2 separate regions of the Homo sapiens genome follow, and region 2 is linked to region 1. The links are contacts of gene promoters, found by promoter capture Hi-C in human tissues and cell types (Jung and others, 2019). All regions are on one chromosome and are shown on one strand. The core of a region is centred on a gene start or on the middle of the fragment in contact, and the rest is flanking DNA. Distances in the headings are between cores, read along the strand shown.

Region 1 (6,775 bases), core at 264-2,763:
TAGTCAGAAAAAAAGTGTTTTATAACCCAAAACAAATATTTGCCAAGAGCTGTAAATTGCTTAAATCGCTTAAACTGGAGATTTCAGTGAGATTTTTAGCAGTAGATTACTAAGCTCCTTAGTTATAGAACATTCAATGCATAGGAAAGTGTTTTTCCTACAAAGCATAACTGAAATGTAGTTTAACTAATGGTTTACAATTCAGTCAAATACCAAAGCTGCAAACCATTTAGGGAGTCATCAATTACATATTTTGTACACTTTCAAAAAGCTTACAGCTGGGATGGGTTGTTTATTTTCAAAGCATGACTGCTTTAAAATGATCATATTCTTTAGCCTGCCACCTAGGAAGCATTAAGCATTTACTTGCAGAATGAACAAACGAGCACGTTGTCTTGTGTTATGAAGTATATAATATAGTTCGTTTTAGTTTCTTCATTCGCAGACTATCAGGCTCATTTCACGTGACTGCTTGCACTTAGAACTGAGTTATCACGGAGTAGGAACTCTCCAACATCGTCGTCATAGACCAAGAGATGCCCATGAACAGCCATGAAAGTGCCAGTCAGGGAAGTATTCAGTGCTTTGTTGTAGAGTTGTTGGATAGAGGCACAGGATCATTTCATGTTGTTGAGGAGAAAGGAGCAACAGCCTCCTCCCACCTTATTAAAAATAGAGATTTAAAAAAACCTCTAATTTCCTCGAAGTACAGAATCTCAAGAGGTAGCTCTAAGGAGAATCCCTCTGGGTTTGAGCGCATTCCTCTTCCAGGGGGCCTATTCTTGGACTGCTTTCCTTAATAGAGAAATCTCTCTGAGCCAAAATCGGCCTCCCCCAATTCCATCCTGTCGGCCCCACTTTTCTGCTTCGGAGACTTCCAAGCCAGTCCCCACTCCTCCTTCAGCCAGTCGGGCCCGCACCCGCGCCCGGCAGGGCCAGCCCTCTCCTCCTCCTGCGTGGCGCAGCACAGGCCCTGAGCGCGCGACCCCAGGCCCTGGGCGCCCCGCCGCATGCTCGCGGCTGGAAGCCCCAGTTTGCGTGGCCCTTCGGGTTATTCCGCTCAAGAGCCGCCGCGTCGCCCCATCTCGGCGCGAATCTGAAAGCGCTTTCGGGGGAGAAGATGTTGGGGGCACTGGTGAGTACACTGCACAAGTGACAAAATGTTTTCAGCTCCTGGAGGCGAAAGGTGCAGAGTCGCTCTGTGTCCGTGAGGCCGGGCGGCGACCTCGCTCAGTCGGCTTCTCGGTCCGAGTCCCCGGGTACGAGGAAAGACCACAGGGGGCTTCTCGCGGAAAAGCGGGCCGCGGACCCTGCGCGGGCTGGCTGGGGCGGGCGGATGACGAGGCGCAGGGGCAAGGGTGGGTCTGCGAGGCGGCGGGTCCGGGCGTCTTAGGCTCCGGGGCTCCCTCGCTGGCGGCGGAGCAGGGATGGCGCGCCCGGGGGTGAGGGTGCGGCGGGTCACAAGCACTCGCAGCCCGCGGCGCAGCAACCCGGCAGGCACACGCACACGTGCACGCGCGCCCCGCACCCGCCCCCCGTGCGGCCCCCGGCTCGGGGCGGCGGCGGCGGCGGGGGCCGGGGGCGCGCGGGCCGGCGCCGGGCTGGGCCCCGGGGACCCCGCGGGCGGCGGGCAGGCGGGGAGGGCGCTCTGGGGCCCGCCCGCGCGGCTCCCATCCTCCGGGCCGGCCTCTGGCTCCGCGGGGCGAGGGGAGGCGCCCGCCGGCTCCGGGCGCCGCGGGCGGGACACGGGCGCGGGGCGCAGGCGGGCTCCTCCGGCGCGTGCGGACGCTGAGCGTGGCCTGTCCCTCAGGTCTGGATGCTGGTAGCCGGCTTCCTGCTGGCGCTGCCGCCGAGCTGGGCCGCGGGCGCCCCGAGGGCGGGCAGGCGCCCCGCGCGGCCGCGGGGCTGCGCGGACCGGCCGGAGGAGCTACTGGAGCAGCTGTACGGGCGCCTGGCGGCCGGCGTGCTCAGTGCCTTCCACCACACGCTGCAGCTGGGGCCGCGTGAGCAGGCGCGCAACGCGAGCTGCCCGGCAGGGGGCAGGCCCGCCGACCGCCGCTTCCGGCCGCCCACCAACCTGCGCAGCGTGTCGCCCTGGGCCTACAGGTGAGCCGCGGGCGCGTCCTGGCGGGGCCCGGCAGGTGGGGAGGGCAGGGCTGGGCGGGGAGAGTGGGTGGGGCCGGGCCGAGGCCGGGCAGGCGGGGAGGGTGGGGCGGGGAAGGGGAGGTGGTTGGGGCGGGGCGACGCGGAGGGGGCGTGGCACGCGGGGCGAGGCGGAGCAGGTAGGGGTGGGGTGGTGCGGGGCGAGACAGGGTAGGGTACGGTAGGGTGGGGTGGGGTGCGAGGGGCGCTGCGATGAGGCGGGGTGGGGCGGGGCAGTTGGAGCACTGGGGGGCAATTCCTAAACTGCGAAGGCCCACCCCCACCACCTCCCTTGAAGGAGTCCTGCTTCCTCTCTTTACCCTCCAGTATTTCCTATGCAACACGTATCTCTTGAACACCTCATCTCCTCCAGGTTGGATGGGTCCGCAAGGCACTAGCTGGGGACCCTTCCGTGATGTGGACACAGTGATGTGGACCGTACTCTGCACAGGGGGCCCGGGGAGGTGCTGCTGGGGGGTGCGCGGTACTATCCACATATTTCCTGAGTGCCCCTGTGGTCCAGAGGCTGCTGGAGTGGAGCCCTGGGAAGCGCCCTCTGAGCCCCTCTAGTTTAATAGCCTAAGGAAGGAGTGGGGATAATTGGGAAAGAAACCACACCATCAGGCAGTGCATGAAGTGACATGAACAGTTTCGAGAGTATTTTGGTCTTGGAACAGAGGTCATTTCAGAAGAAAGGGACAGCCTGCAGAAGGGGAAGGCTGGAGAAGTTGGGGGCGTGTAGGCAGGGTGCCGCAGTGTCCTCAGCAGGCACCTGTGACCGTCTTCCCTCTAGCTGGAGCAGGAGGAGCTGCCCTAGGGGGCAAGGCCTCCCAGGGCCACAGAGGTCAAGAAAGGCTTCGTGAAAGAGCTGAGTCTTGATGGAGGAGAGCAAGTCGCCTACAAAGGCAGTGCTGAGGGAAGGGACAGCTGATAGCAAGCGGGAACAAAGCGCTTGGAAAATGGGGAGAGCCACAAGGCGAGCGGGGGCGGTGGGGGTGGGGGGGCGTAGGCGAGGTGTTTGCCTGTGGGGTGGGCATCGATGTAAGGCTGGAGACAGGTGCAGGAGCTGGATCCCCGCCTTGTCAGCAGTGCAGAGCTTCACCCTCACGCCTGGAATCCCAGCACTTTGGGAGGCCGAGGCAGGAGGATTTAAGTCCAGGAGTTCGAGACCAGCCTGGGAAACATAGCGAGATCCCATTTCTGCAAACAATTTTTAAGGATTAGCGAAGTGTGGTGGCACGTGCCTGTGGTCCCAGCTACTCCAGAGGCTTAAGTGGGAGGATAGATTGAGCCCGGGAGGTTCAGGCTGCAGTGAGCTGTGGTGGCGCCACTGCCTTCCAACCTGCGTGACAAAGCGAGACCCCGTCTCTAAAATAAAAATTAAAGAGAAAAAAAGTCTTGACACTTGAGATGGAGGAAGCCATACAGCCACTCTGGTTTAGGAGGGTGTCCCAATGGGGCATGGATTGGACAATGCTCTCCAGCACTTCCATCCAAAGGATCTAGGGCTTCACTCAGGCAGCGCGGTGGGAAGGGGAGACTAGGATCAGCGTGAAAGATGCTCATTAAAGAAGACAAGTGCTGTGGAGAGTCAGAGGAAATGTGATGATTTTGTCTAAAACGCATCTGGGCTTTCCTGGAGCCTCTCCCTGCCGGCTGCTGGGTAGGGAGATTTCCTTTTACTCAACAACACACAGGACCCCTATGCTGTCCTGGGAAGCCAAGTTTTAGGGCCTCCTGCCTCCTGGCTACTCTGCAGAGGACCAAGCTCACTGTGGCAGAGCCCCCTCAGAGCCCCTGCCCACGGGGAAGTTGGGTGGGACCCCTCCCGCCCTTCTCACTCCTGTCCTTCAGCTGGAGCCTGCAGGGCACACACATGGCGCCATTCATTCTGGTATCTTGGTGCTCTTGCTTTTCCTCTCTCTTCCTCCATTTCCAGGACCTGAAGGGATGGACTACGGCATTCTTCTTTCTCTAACCTCGTGTTATGCTTCTGATATACCAAATAGGATTAAAGCCACATAAGGAATCTCTCAGAACCAGAGATTAACTTCTCTGGACAGAAGCTGCTGGCCCTGCTTTCTATAGCAGATTCGAACTCTCAGGCAAACCCGTGGCTCCCCACAGGCTGGGCCAAGGGCCTAAGAGTAGTATATAGCCTCCCAAAGGCATGTCTCTCATGTTTCTGGCTTGGGTTGTTGATGGTATTTGAGCAAAATGAGAAAATACACTTAGGAACAAGTGTTGTGGGAGGAAATAATGAATTTAGTAACAAGCCTGTTGAGTTTTGCCTGCCTGAAAGGCGTACAGGTGACAATGACTGGTTGGAGCTCAGGAGACAGAGCAGGGCTGGAGGACACATGGAGAGTTAGCAGCACTGGCATTCTGTGTGTGGGAAGTTAAATTGAGTTGCCCTTGCTACAGATGACACCTATGTCGCCCCAGGCAGGATCTGGGAGCCGAGGGAGGTTATGGATGAGAATGACACACAGGGTTCGGGGATCGTGGTCTGGGCCACCCAGATCTGCCCACATGTGGAACCTCAGTGCTGGGTGGTCCCAGGAGCAGGAGTGGCAGCTGCAGCAGGGTGGCTGAAGGTGTCATGTGCATCATTTTTCATATTATTTAGCAACAGTGATGAGATCACTCCCCATGGGCAAACGGAGGTGGGTGGCTTATATTTGCTGAAGGAAGGACAGTCTTCAGGGGATGGCTGCTGGGCTGGGACTCCAGATTGCTGACTGCCAAAGCTGCTCCTGCATTTTCCTGCCAGGAGAGCCCTCTCTGCCCTCCTCCCTCCAATCACCTCTCACCATCTTTTGGGTTATTGGGAAGATTAGAAAAAGTGAGACCCAGCCAGGCCCAGTGGCTCACCTGTAAATCCCCGGCTACTCAGGAGGCGGAGGTGGGAGGATCACTTGAGCCCAGGAGTTTGAGACCAGCCTGGGCAACATAGTATGAGACTTATCACTACAAAAAAAACAGCCAGGTGTGGTCATGTTTGCCTGTGGTCCCAGCTACTTGGGAAGTTTGAGCCAGGGAGGCTGAGGCTGTAGTGAACTATGATTGTGCCTCTGCACTCCGGCCTGGGCAACAGAGTGAGAACTTGTCTCAAAAAAAAAAAAAAAAAAAAAAAAAGGAAAAGAAATAGTGAGCCAATGGAAGTGTGGAGCCTCTACTAAAAGATGTTGTGGAAGGACAGGTTTTTTCTTTTAGACAGAATCTCGCTCTGCCACCCAGCCTGGAGTGCAGTGACACAGACAGATCAATGCAGCCTTGACCTTCTAGGCTCAAGGGATCCTCCTACCTCAGCCTCCCATGTAGCTGAGACCACAGGTGCGCACCACCACATGCAGCTAGTTTTTTTGTTTTGTTTTTTAGAGATGGGGGCCTCACTTTGTTGCCCAGGTTCGTCTTGAAGTCCTGGGCTCCAGTGACCCTCCTGTCTCAGCCTCTCATAGTGCTGGGATTACAGGCGTAAGCCATGGTGCCAGGCCAGGGCTTGTTCCTTGGTGGAGTGTCTGAGGGTGGGGCCTGGGTAGAGGAGTGCCCACCTGCAGGCTGGGCACAGGGTCAGGTGGTATTTCTTTCTTTCTTTCTTTTGAGACAGGGTTTTGCTCTGTCACCCAGGCTGGAATGCAGTGGCATGATCTTGGCAGACTACAACCTCCATCTCCTGGGTTCAAGCAATTCTCCTGTCTCAGCTTCTGGAGTAGCTGGGATTACAGGTGCATGCCACCACGCCCAGCTAATTTTTGTATTTTTAGTAGAGACAGGGTTTCGCCATGTTGGCCAGGCTGGTCTCGAACTCCTGGCCTCAAGTGATCTGCCTGCCTTGGCTTCCTAAAGTGCTGGGATTACAGGCCCAAGCCACCACGCCCTAAAGGCACAGCAGTCAGAGAGAATGCTGAGAAAGACAGATAGGGAGATGGACTGAACGTCAGGAGTACTGATGGGCACAGCAAGGATCACTTTAGGTGGATAAGTTTTACAATAGGCATTTGGAAGGTGGCTTTCCATACGGATGGAATGGAGACCTGGGTCATTCAGTAAATGGTGTTGGGACAGCCTGGGCCTCACTCCTCTGTGAAAATGAATTCCAGATGAATCAAACATTTAAATGTAAAAAAACCACAAAAGCAGAGAAAAACACAAGCAATTATATTTATAATCTTGGAGTGGAGGAGGCCCTATTTAGCTGCTCACAGTCCCCAAAAGTCACAGAAGACAAGATTGAGAAATGAAGTTACATAATTACACACCATTTCTTCTTGGTAAAGTAAAATAAGAAAAATACAAGGGCAAACTGGGAAAAAATGTTTGCAACCCAAGTCACAAAGAGCTCATTCCTAAAGAGCTCCCACAAATCAGTAAGAAAAGGACCAGTGACGGCCGGGTGCGGTGGCTCACGCCTGTAATCCCAGCACTTTGGGAGGCCGAGGCAGGAGGATCATGAGGTCAGGAGATCGAGACCATCCTGGCTAACATGGTGAAACCCCATCTCTACTAAAAATACAAAAAAAAAAAAAAAAATTAGCCAGGAGTGGTGGTGGGCACCAGGAGGCAGAGCTTGCAGTGAGCTGAGATTGTACCACTGCACTCCAGCCTGGATGACAGAGCGAGACTCTGTCTC
Region 2 (6,775 bases), core at 2,835-5,334, 110 kb after region 1:
GGATATTTTCTAAGACCTATCTTGGTTGTTTTTTAGGTACATATCTAACACATGTTATCGTGGTTTAATTATTCATATACATAAAAGTATAACTAAAAAGTAAAAGTCTTATATGCCTTTCTATTATTAAAAAAAGTTTTCAATAATCCCTCCTATTAACACTCTGATATTAGAACAGAAGATCAGAGGTAGACTGCAAGAGCCTCAACTCATTGGATGGCAATTTACAGTAAGACTATGGACTTCTAAACAGCCTTCTGGTTTCTTTTGGAGATAATATAACTCATCGAGCAAAGTGTGAGAAATATGGTTGTTGACAATTGGCAACTAAATCTTTCAGTCTAATCACAGAAAACTGAAACCTAACCTAGCGCTTTTTCATAATACCCTGGCCCTGCTCCATGGCCACTCTGGCCAAAACCCAGCAGCCAAGGCAGCAGCACGTGCACAGAGATGACTAAGGAGACCAAGCTAGACACTATGTGCTCATGCCCTTGGTATTGTCAGGCCTGCTGCCAGAGAGGCTTTGGAGAGGGGCTTAGAGCTTACGAGACTACTTGACCCCACTTTACTCCATCTGGAAATGCAGGGTGGAGAAGGTAATCAAATTATGATATCAGCACTTATCTCTCAATGCCCATAATTACCTTGGAAGTATATAGAGCAATAAATTTGCAACCCTTTAGTCATAGAAAAAAATCTTTTACGTTTTGGTAATTATGTTGAATACATAATTCCAAAATAGTGGTTACTTTTATTTATGAAAATGCTGTCAAATGAAGCTTTGAAAAGAAAACTTTCAATATATGAAATCTGTCCCCTTTTTGACATCAAATTGAATTTCAGAGATTAAAATCTAACAACACTACACGATTCCAACTACACGACATTCTAGAAAAGGCAAAACTATGGAGACAGGCGAAAGATCAGTGGTTGCCAGAGGTTGTGAGGGGCAGGGAAGGATAAATAGGCAGAACACAGAGGATTTTCAGCACAGTGAAACTACTCTGTATGATACCTTAATGATGGACATCACACACTGGTCCAAACCCATAGAATGTACAATGCCAAGAGTGAACCCTATGTACACTATGGACTCTGGATGGCGATGATGTGTCAATGTCGTTTCATCAGCTGTAACAATGTACCACTCTCGTGTGGGATGTTGATGGGTGAGGGTGGGGAGGCTGCATGTTTGAGGGGGTTTGTATTTTCACCCAATTTTTGCTGTGGACTCAGAACTGCTCTAAAATATAAAAAGTCTTTATCTATATTTATATTTATCTATATAAATCTAATATCAGGTACTGTAAAAATATGAGCTAAATCTCATGCTAAGGTAGTTAGTTTGTTTTCCTGTGAACAGCAACTAATCATCATGACAACTCCAAATCCTTTCAATGAAATTGGAAAGCTTTTTCTGTTGATCATCAAGATTATCTTCATATGTAAACATAAATAACGTGTTAGATATGTGATTCACAGACAAAAAATGCAGTGAGATGAATATGGGCAATTCATTTTCACAGAAAATCTTATGTCTACAGAATATCCTTCAAAAAGTTCCTTTTATATTATTCTTTACAACAGTTTGGAAGTGAAAACAGCTTCAACTATCAGAGATTGTAGAAGCTGCAAAAAAGTGCCCAAAACACTGGCTGGGAAGTTCACCAGCAGCATCTGCTTATAGACTCACTTGGCAGAAATAAGTAATGTACCAAACACTTGCATGCAATAACAGGAGAAGGAAAAAACCACAGGTTAAAAAACAACAGAAAAAGGCTCCATCAATATACTATACTATTTCTTAATCTGCGTGGTTGATACATAATCGTTCATTTCATTATTCTTTATATTTTTATAACATAAAACTAGTACTTTATATGAATGAAACATTTCACAATAACTTTAAAATTTACAGGCATCAGCACAATCCCCACGTCTAACAACAAATCACAAATAATATTTGTGCTGCACAGTGTAAAACATTAAGAAGGACATATGAACGATTAAAGACTGAAAGAGCTATACTATTAGTTTATGCTGTTATTCATCTGCTATTGGTATGTAGATTCTTTCCTAGCGAAGTATCATTTAAGGCAAATATGGGAACAATATAGTGACACAAATGTCACAAAAAAAACTTCATGAACTCTCCACTTAAAAATGTAGGAATTTAGAAGTCTTTGAATGTCAAATGAAAAATAAATCCACGTCTAGTTATTTTTATTTTTTCTAGCTAGTTCTTAAAATACAGAATTAATTTAACTTCAGAATACCTATGCAGCTGACAGTATTCCTGGTTTCTGGAATCCCCCAAGAGAAATGGATTTAGTAGACAAGTATTGCAGCTGTTAGAAAAATCTTACAGACAGATCACTTAAATATGATATGGAACAATAGTTATAACAGTAAGTAAGCTTTATTCTAAATCCACTGCACTAAAGGTGCAAGAATTCTGTGAAACTTAACACTGGTTCTGCACTAGGATTGGTAAAGCAGATTTAAACAATCAGAGCTGACTCATACAAGTCATGAAATATTACATGGTTATCATCCAATTAGAATTAAAACATTAAAACAATTCTTAAAACACTTCTTTTAATACGAATCTGTATTTAAGGTAAAATAGTAACTAGTTTTCTTCCAAATATCCTGGTAGAGCTAAAACTATTGTTATTATTTCTAAAAAGTATACTTTTAATGTGCAAGCTTTAAAAAATACTCATGGATTTAATTCTATCTTTTAAGCAGAGGAAATGAATGTGCTTGATGGGTGGGGGGCGCTGGACAGCCAGCTTGCTCTCTCCAGTATCATCAGTTTATTCTTTTATAGCTACAAGAACCGTTTGGTGGGGATGTTGGCAAGGATCTTCAAACAATCCATCCTTTCATGGGTGAAGGTGCAAGGTAGACTACACAGTTACACTGTACGGACACAACCATCCAGAGAATAAGTATTGTTTTCCCTCTTATCACTGAGATATCCCAAAATTTATGCTCCCCACTTCTCAATCTGTAATTTGGCTTCAATTTATGGCTTCCTTTTTGTCACATAACCTCACTACAAAGTAATTACCCAACAAGCCAGAGAAATTAAATTCTGAATCAAGAATGCTGACCTCTAAATACACTCACTCACTTGACAAATTGCAAATTTATTTTATTGCATTACATTCTATAATCAACTTCCTAAAAACTTTATCAAGTACCTTTTTCTTTACTACCTTGTCCTGCTGGTCTTGAGATTAGGCTACAAATATACTAAAACTAGATGTAAGGTTCTTCCTTTATAAATTGTTATTTACCACGATTGCCCTTATACACAACACATACATCAAAATGCATATACAAAATACCTCAATGCTATGAAGGCTGCTCTGTTCCTGTAGCAACATACTGCACAGCTTCACCTACTTGGCTGAACTCAAAATGGTTAATTATAAAAGAAACCAAGAAACAAACTAGAGTATACAGTTCTAGTCATATTCTCCTTGAATTTCACTGAAACAATTCAAATGCATCTACTATTATAAATCTTTTATAAAACAGCTGTTGTATTAATATGAACAATTATTGATAGAATTTTAATCTTTTTTTGAGACAAAGCCTTGCTGTATTACCCAGGCTGGAGTGCAGTGGCATGATCTCAGCTCACTGCAACCTCTGCCTCCCGGGTTCAAGTAATTCTCCTGTCTCAGCCTCCTCAGTAGCTGGGATTACAGGAGTGTGCCACCATGCCTGGCTAATTTTTGTATTTTTAGTAGAGACGGAGCTTCGATGTGTTGGCCAGGCTGGTCTCCTCACCCGACCTCAGGTGATCTGCCTACCTCAGCTTCCCAAGGTACGGCCGTGAGCCACCAAGCCCAGCAGGATTTTAATCTTTAAGGCAATACTTTTTCATCTCCACATTCATTCTTACCTCTTCAGTTCAGCAATAGATAATAATTTGATTTCTGGGTATAATGAAAAAATTCTTATCTCCAAAAAGTCTCAAATAATATCAAGAAACTTCTGCAGCCACAGAGAAACTTGGCTGAATACCAGAATTGCTCTTTGTGAACACAGACTCTCAGTTAACTGCAAGTCAGAGTACTCATAAATATGTCTCTTCACTCACATGCTAAAGCCACCCAGCAAGGTGGCTTTATGACATGGGTTTCAAAAACACACACTGGTATCAAGAATGCTTCTTCCTATGAAGATGCTCTTCTTCCCTTGCTACACAACGTTACCACCATCAAAGACATGAATTGCTATTAAAAAAGATGATAATCTGTATATATTCCTAAACAAACACAGCTCTGAAAAAAGTATTCTCACAGTAAAACAAAGTCTTACATGTGGAACCTGTTTTCCTACTGGAAAAAGAAGCTTTCAATATTTCACAAAATTACAATTATAAAAATCATTTAAAAAATAATTTTAAAAAATTAGAATTATAATTAGTTTGCACCAAACAAAACTCAACAGTTGTTCTTATGTGGTAAGAGTGCACACAGGTTTTCAATAAAAGCTATTATTTTAAAGGCTCATTTTAAAAAATTATTCTACATGTTATTGCTTGTAATAAATTATTGTACACTATACACGTCCCCCTCCCCCTCCCCTTTGTTTTTTTGTTGAGATGGAGTTTCGTTCTTGTCACCCAGGCTGGAGTGCAGTGGTGTGATCTTGGGTCACTGCAACCTCCGCCTCTCGGGTTCAAGAGATCCTCCTGCTTCAGCCTCCCAAGTAGCTGGGATTACAGGCGCCCGCCACCATGCCCGGCTAATTTTTTATATTTTTAAGTAGAGAAGGGGTTTTGCCATGTTTGGCAGGCTGGTCTCGAACTCCTGACCTCAGGCAATCCGCCTGCCTCAGTCTCCCAAAGTACTGGGATTACAGGCGTGAGCCACTGAGCCCGGCCTATACAGGTACTTTTCATGCAGTTAATCCACGTCATAAAGCAGTAGAAGGAATTCATACCCTGACTTTACCAATAAGCTAACATGCTCCAAAAAAAAGTGAAGCAGCTTGCTTGAACTCTTGCTCTTCATGACTGCCTGGCCTGTAACTGTGCAGTCTCCCTCAAAAGTTCATCATCTTTTCATCCCATGTTAACTCCCAAACTCATATCTTTAATATGCCTCAATTTTTCAAATTTTACTTAAAAGATCATGTCTTGGCCAGGCGCGGTGGCTCACACCTGTAATCCTAGCACTTTGGGAGGCTGGGGTGGGTGGACTGCGAGGTCAGGAGTTTGAGACCAGCCTGGCCAACATGGTGAAACCCCGTCTCTACTAAAAATACAAAAATTAGCCGGGCGTGATGGCGCATGCCTGTAATCCCAGCTACTCGGGAGGCTGATGCAGAAGAATCGCTTGAACCTGTGAGGCAGAGGTTGCAGTGAGCCAAGACCGTGCCATCGCAGTCCAGCCTGGGCGACAGAGCGAGACTCCATCTCAAAAAAAAAAAGATCATGTCTTTATATACTTTTCCATCTCAGGACAACTACGTATTATGTACTATTACTACAATTACTGGGTGCCCAAGAAAACAAAAGATGAAATGGTTTCTGTCCCAGAGGTCCAATTTGGTTTGGCTGGATTTGTTCCTATATTTCTGGTATTAGCTGTATACTCCCCTGGTCCTCTACTCCCAGCATACAGAAGATACAACGGAAACCGCTTGAGGTTGAGATGACATTTAGGAGGTTTACTCTTAAGAAAGTCACCATGCCTGGGCCACCCCATTAGCCCTCAACTTCACCACACATCCCCAACCTGGTTTCTACGACTAATGCAAAACTTTAAACAGATCTTTTCCCTCTGTCCTTTTCAATAGGTGACCAATTATTTTAAAAAATAATTTTTAAATATCATAAACAGCTCAATTAAAAATTAATTAAAAGAGTAAAATAAATGAAAAGAAATAATACTTTTCTTGAATGAAACCTGTTAGGTTCATCTTCACTAGAGCACGCCTGCTGTGAAATAAGCACAACACACATCTGCTTCTCTGCAAATGCATGCAGGCTTTCTATATTCCAACACTCCTATGTCAAATCTTGAAGGAAAAATTGTCAAGATGTCAGTGTCCTCAAATAAATTCTGCACTTAAAATTTGCAAACCAAGGATGCCATATATCTTCCAGCAATTCTTTAAAACGTTTAGGAACACGCTTAACTCACAAACAGAACTAAAAGGAGCTTAGTTTCTAAATATAGGATCAACATGCTCTTTAATCCACCTGGTTTAGAAGAGAAAATAAACCAAGGTGGAGAGGGAAAGTGCAAGGAATTCATGTTAAATAAAACCTGACTAGTTCAGAATCTGTGATCATTTGAAAGAGGTTTGAGTAAACTGTAAATACTTAAAATGTTAAATACTTAAAATTACCCTGGATTTTTATGTTTAGAATGTAAAGTATCCCTCTGAAACATTCAACTGTACATATCATGCCTTTAAACTTCTATTTTTCTGTTACTACATTTTCTCTACCGTATAAACACTTGTCTGACCTGGTTCCTTTCCTCATCAAATCATGAAAGTGCCCGATTACATAAACATAATCATTCTCGAGTTCTCTATTCTCTGAACACCTCTGAAGGGATACGAAAAAACTCACATACACGTTGGCAGAATCTAACCAACACAACTTACAATTTAACATGAAATTCTAACAAAATATCTACATTCTTTTTCCTCTTACAGCCTTTCAGAAAGATTCACATTTTGACTCATAAAAAGAAAAATTAGTTTCAACAATTTAATCACTACTTTGTGGAATGAA

What was found. Contacts are between HindIII fragments. The study calls those that stand out against the background at their distance.
Region 2: a fragment that was not itself captured here is called in contact with the fragment with the promoter of IL17D in region 1 in 5 of the 25 tissues and cell types used here (dorsolateral prefrontal cortex, heart left ventricle, hippocampus and 2 more).

The regions. Positions count from the first base shown.
Region 1 is chr13:20,702,186-20,708,960 of GRCh38, forward strand. It overlaps IL17D (interleukin 17D), which reads left to right and starts at 1,514. Exons shown (of 2, transcript NM_001385224.1): 1 at 1,514-2,106. The coding sequence starts at 1,817. RefSeq lists silencers at 896-975, 1,396-1,535, 1,826-2,335. The HindIII fragment of the contact is 9,244 bases long and covers 1-3,953 here.
Region 2 is chr13:20,814,214-20,820,988 of GRCh38, forward strand. The region is part of intron 9 of XPO4 (exportin 4); the gene reads right to left. Among named protein-coding and RNA genes, the nearest start is that of EEF1AKMT1, 44 kb to the left of the region's middle. The HindIII fragment of the contact is 5,973 bases long and covers 1,099-6,775 here.